2 separate regions of the Homo sapiens genome follow, and region 1 is linked to region 2. Evidence: promoter capture Hi-C in 16 types of primary human blood cells and fetal thymus (Javierre and others, 2016). All regions are on one chromosome and are shown on one strand. The core of a region is centred on a gene start or on the middle of the fragment in contact, and the rest is flanking DNA. Distances in the headings are between cores, read along the strand shown. Region 1 overlaps RMI1 (RecQ mediated genome instability 1). Region 2 holds the start of QNG1 (Q-nucleotide N-glycosylase 1).

The links. The method cuts DNA at HindIII sites, captures the fragments that hold promoters and counts their contacts. A CHiCAGO score of 5 or more calls a contact.
Region 1: a fragment that was not itself captured here is called in contact with the fragment with the promoter of QNG1 in region 2 in 2 of 17 cell types (naive CD8 T cells and neutrophils); the score reaches 5.3 in naive CD8 T cells.

What each region holds. Positions count from the first base shown.
Region 1 is chr9:84,001,526-84,004,268 of GRCh38, reverse strand. It overlaps RMI1 (RecQ mediated genome instability 1), which reads right to left. Exons shown (of 3, transcript NM_001358291.2): 3 at 195-2,743. The coding sequence ends at 1,405. Among named protein-coding and RNA genes, the nearest start is that of RMI1, 22 kb to the right of the region's middle. The HindIII fragment of the contact is 3,800 bases long and covers 1-2,743 here.
Region 2 is chr9:83,955,208-83,958,184 of GRCh38, reverse strand. QNG1 (Q-nucleotide N-glycosylase 1) reads left to right here and starts at 1,443. Exons shown (of 4, transcript NM_032307.5): 1 at 1,443-2,021; 2 at 2,545-2,804. The coding sequence starts at 1,685. The HindIII fragment of the contact is 8,080 bases long and covers 1-2,977 here.

The DNA of each region.
Region 1 (2,743 bases), core at 50-2,549, 46 kb before region 2:
CAAGTATATAGACAAGATTATTACTAGGGCATATATTAGCAATATCTGTGTCCTGGTGCTTTGAACCCTGATACAACAATGAAAATATTTTAAAATCTTTCTCTTCTACTTCTATTATCATACATCATACATGTATTTATCTTACTTCCTGATATTTCGTTACATTATTTTCAATAAAATAAAACACCAATGTATTTTGTTATTTAAGGATTTGTTTAATGTTTTAAAATTCAAAGCACTTTAAATTATTTTAAGACAAAAGATTAATAAAAACAACATTACCTTTCAAATACAACTTTATAACAGCACAGTGGAAGAATGGTAAACAGTCCCTCTTTTTTTTAAAAAAAAATCAGTACTTAAAACCAAAGGAAGGCTTATATGTACAGCTAATTCAGAAAGGGAACAATGACACCTAAAGACATAGATAAATGCTTCATTTTAATCCAATAAATGTCCTACCTACTGGATCTTAATAATGATGTTTTCAATATGCCATTTAAAATAAACTATCCTTGAAAATAAAGTTTTAAATCATTCAATATAATCTATGAAATAGCATCTAGTTAACTAGATTACCTTAAATATACCAAATATTATAATCAGCAAAATAAAAACCAGTAAATCAATTTGTATCTGAAAGCCTGATGTTCTGATCTACTGGATTTTAATTTTTTTTCCCTAAGATTAACAATATAAACAAATCTTTTGGGTACTCAACATATTATGACAAGCTCAGGCATGTTCAGGGTGGTATGGCCATAGACAGTACCAACATATTAGAAGGAAATTACCTATTTATAATTATTAACTTTCAAAAATATGACTCACCACCGAACACCAGTACAATATTTTAGCAATCATCTTATGTGACGTGACAAGTGGAAAACAAATTTCTCAACAATAGTGGGTCACCATATTCCTCCATCTAACAGTTACTTTTAAAAAAAGTAAACTTTGGAGGCCATGACGGCAGGAGTGAGAGGCCAGGAGTTTGAGACCAATCTGGGCAACATAGCAAAACTCTGTCCCTACAAAACAATAATAGTAATTATAAATTAGCTGGGCATGGTGGTACATGCCTATAGTCCCAGCAACTCAAGAGGCTAAGGCAGGAGGATCGCTTGAGCTCAAGAGGTTGATGCAATAACCTATGATCATGCCACTGCACTCTAGCCTGGGCAACAGAGCAATACCCTGACATTAAAAAAAAAAAAAAAAAGATTAACTTATTTTCAAAAGCTCCACATATAACAAACATGATTAAACACTTTAAAATTAAACTGAAATAAGCTATGAAATTTCATTTTTCCTTTTTACACAAAGTATCATAAGTAAAATTGTGAACAAATTCTAAATATTTCCTTGTTGTTTTTAATTGTTCCTAATACTATTTTAGTTTAATTATTTATTTAACCGCTTCTTTAGATTCTCAAGGTGTTCCATATTAACATCTTGTAATGCCAGTACCATTGCTTTAGACAAGGAAGGATTAAATGAAATAGTCATTAGACAGCACAAATCTATTAGATCTCTTTGACATTTCTGCAACCCTTCCAGGAACTTTTGGTATTGAAGAGGATCCTTTTTTGACTGTTTCATTTCTGGTACTGAGAACCCTATCAAGCTAGTAAGTATTTCATCCACAAAGTCTACATCTAGATATGCAGTACCATCAGACACCTTTGCAGTTATACTCCAAATACCACCAGAACTTGAGAGATTTCCAGTTAAGGTTACAATAAATGCTTTCACTTTCACTGTTGTAACTTCCTTTGGTTTGCTGGCCATTAGAACAGACAAATAGACAAAGGGTGGAGAATACAAATCCATGGCAATAGAAAGATTAATGCTATTCTCTGATGATCTTAAAGAACAACTCTGTAAATTACAATCATTTTCATTAGAAATTTGTGAATTCCTTTTCTGTACATAGTTGACCACCTCTCTATTTAATATTTTATTATTTAAGGAATGGCTATCTGAACTGCTGGTTTGTTTTATTTTATTATCTGTCTCTAAGTTCTTTTCTTTATTTGTAAAATCATGGGCTAAGGGTACATTACAATGAACTGAAAAAATACTCCTGTTTTGGTCTCTAACAGATGGACAACCAAATGATTTGTCTTCATTAGTCATTTGTTCAGATACATTTTTTTCACTCCAATTATTGTTTCCATTTTTGCAAGTCAAAGAAAAGTTATTCGTAGTATTAGGATTATGTGAAAATCTCTCTATACTTCGATCGGCATTTCTGTTAAAAGTCAATGGTTGCAATTCCTTAGTTTCCATCTGTTCTTTCTGGACAGTTTCTTCTAAAAGCAAGGCCTCCTCCAGTGAAAAGTCATCTAATTCTCCATCCATTACATGTATAGATAGGTTTGATGGTTCCTCTTTTGGTCTTGGAGAAATAACAAATTCTGGCTCAAAACTTGACTGTCTTGTGGGAATGGTATTTGAGGAACTACCTGTGGTGAAACATCGTTCTGAGGAAGTGTCATTATTTGCTGTAAGCTCATCATTTTCATCAAGACTTGCCAAGAGTTCTTCATCAGAAGGACCTAATGCAGGATCTAGAACATCTGTAACTCTGGGAATGTTTTCGTTAGAATTGTTTGGTATGACTGAAACTACAAGATCAGGTTCCCCTATTAATCTTGCAAGTACTTTTTCTTGGGCATATTCTTCTAAAAGAGCATCTACTTCACCTCCTAACACTTTCACGTTTTCTGGTTTCAATAAG
Region 2 (2,977 bases), core at 194-2,693:
GGCTAAGCCAGGAGAATTGCTTGAACCCAGGAGGCGGAGGTTGCAGTGAGCCGAGACTGTGCCACTGCATTCCAGCCTGGATGACAGAGTGAGACTCCGTCTCAAAAAAAAAGCTCCATTTGGGAGGCCGAGGAGGGTGGATTACCTGAGGTCAGGAGTTTGAGACCAGCCTGGCCCACATAGGGAAACCCCATCTCTACTAAAAATACAAAAATTAGTCAGGTGTGGTGGCTGACACCTATAATCCCAGCTACTTGGGAAGCTGAGGCAGGGAGAATCACTTGAACCGGGGAGGTGGAGGTTGCAGTGAGCTGAGATCATGCCACTGCACTCCAGCCTGGGCGACAGGGTGAGATTCTGTCTCAAACAAACAAATTTAAAAGCTCCGAATCCTCCAAAAATACCAAGATTTTCCTGTCGGTAACTAGAGATGGGTACTGATGATTATTTTTAATAGGTGATTTTCAAAGATGTGAACGTTATCCATGGAGATTTAAGTCTCCAAAAGGAAAAAAAATGCATACCTTTATACTAAAACTTCATCACCAGTCAAATTTGGATCATCACTAAATTGGCTTCTACACCTCTCTCCTAATATAAGGTACTTGTGTAAGTTTGCAGTTGTGAGACACTTATTTCCTCATTTTTAATGTCTTCTCAGTAGGGCCACTGATATAGTCACTATTTGACTGACCAGAATGGTTGGCACTGGTGATTGGCTCATAAAGTGCCCTCGATTTAGGGGGCTCAATTATCAAAGGTTTAAATCCTAGCCCAAACCATTGCTGTGATGGGGGTTAATCAATGAACCACTCAGCTTCACTTGCAAAAGCGGGATCACAATAGCCGCTTTCGTCATGACCCAGCCTAGGTGAGATTTAGTACTTAAGTACACTGCCAGGCACACAAGGTTAATTTAACAATTTAACACATTTGTTTCCTCATCCATTTCTCCAAACCTTCCAACTAATCCTAACGTTCGTTCGGCCAAATGGGCCAGGAATTCACTTAAACAAAAACAAAAAACAAAACAAACAAAAAAACACTCCCTGGGGCTTGGGGAAGGAGGCACCGCCGCCCATGTCGCAGTCTGGGGGTGGCTCAGTCCTCAGCACCCAGATCTACGGCCATAATGCTCTTCGAGGCCAAGGAGCCCGGATGCGGGGCGTTGCCGAAGGCGTCTTGCTCAGGCTGCGGGAAAGGAGAGGGGTGGGAGCGGGGTGGGGGCATCGCGACCCAGGGCAAGGCGGCGAGTCGCCGTCTTCGAGTCCCACCTGTCCGAAGCGGGGTGAGAAAAGGCAAAACATGGCAAAGCCATGCACCTCCCAGGGTGGGCAACTCACGGCCGGTGAACGCCGGACCCTTAGCAGTTTCCAGACCTTTGGAACCGGAAGCGGAGCCTGAGAGCGCGCCCGAGAGGGCGTGAACGGGACCGCTTTCCCGGAAGTGCTTGCGGCCTCTGCCCAGCGAGCTGCCCCGGGGTCTCTCTGGTTTCCTAATCAGGGCAACGCCGCGGGAGAGAACCTTTACCTTGGCTGCACTAAGTTCTCGGTGCCACTCCCTGGCAGGGCGGGACCTTGTTTAGGCCCTGTGATCGCGCGGTTCGTAGTAGCGCAAGGCGCAGAGTGGACCTTGACCCGCCTAGGGCGGGAAGAGTTTGGCCCGCCGGGTCCCAAAGGGCAGAATGGACGGGCTCCTAAATCCCAGGGAATCCTCTAAATTCATTGCAGAAAACAGTCGGGATGTGTTTATTGACAGCGGAGGCGTACGGAGGGTGGCAGAGCTGCTGCTGGCCAAGGCGGCGGGGCCAGAGCTGCGCGTGGAGGGGTGGAAAGCCCTTCATGAGCTGAACCCCAGGGCGGCCGACGAGGCCGCGGTCAACTGGGTGTTCGTGACAGACACGCTCAACTTCTCCTTTTGGTCGGAGCAGGACGAGCACAAGTGTGTGGTGAGGTACAGAGGGAAAACATACAGTGGGTACTGGTCCCTGTGCGCCGCCGTCAACAGAGCCCTCGACGAAGGTTGGTGCCATACTTGCCATCGGACCTAACGGCCTTTGAGGTTTCCATTTACTTGGGGTGTGTGTAGGGGAGTTCCAAGGAGCGGGTTGGGAGATGGAATAATGGAAAGCGAACCTGAAGTTCGTTGCAAGTCCTTATGCTTAAAATAGAAGTATGAAAAGGGGCATATTTTAGTGGAAAATGATGTTAATATTTATCATTGCAGCATAAAAGTTACAGTAGCATAAAAGTCAGTTTTATAAAGAATGCCATTTGAATGACACCTGAAGAACAAAAGGACCGATGTTATAAAGCAATTTACTCAGAATACATCTGATGTAATATTGCAATAGTTAGAAATGGGTGAATAAGTACAGATGAACAAGTAGAAAATGAGTTTTGCTTTAGATTTTTTATTCTTCCACTTTTGGTGCATTCCTATACCACTCATTTGGTTTCATATTAATTCCATGTTGTAAAAGCAAGGGTTTAATGCATATGGAAGTATGACATTGGTCCTCTGAATTTTATTTTTTCACTAAAGGGATACCAATAACTAGTGCCTCGTACTACGCGACAGTGACCCTGGATCAGGTTCGGAATATACTTCGTTCTGACACAGACGTTTCCATGCCTTTAGTAGAAGAGAGGCATCGGATTCTCAATGAAACCGGGAAAATTCTGCTGGAGAAGTTTGGAGGCTCTTTTCTCAACTGCGTCCGAGAAAGTGAGAATAGTGCGCAGAAGTTAATGCACCTGGTGGTTGAAAGTTTTCCTTCTTACAGAGATGTGACTCTGTTTGAGGTGAGTTGCTTCTGTTGGGGATTTTAGAAGTCTTAATCATCTCAGAGTTAACTCTTTTACTTCCAGAACTCATTTTAAGAATAAAAACTTAAATTTTTAAATGTATTCCTTGTGGAAGAAACTAACAAAATCAAGTAGTGTTTCAAAGTCATTTCTTATGTTTTCTTTTGTTT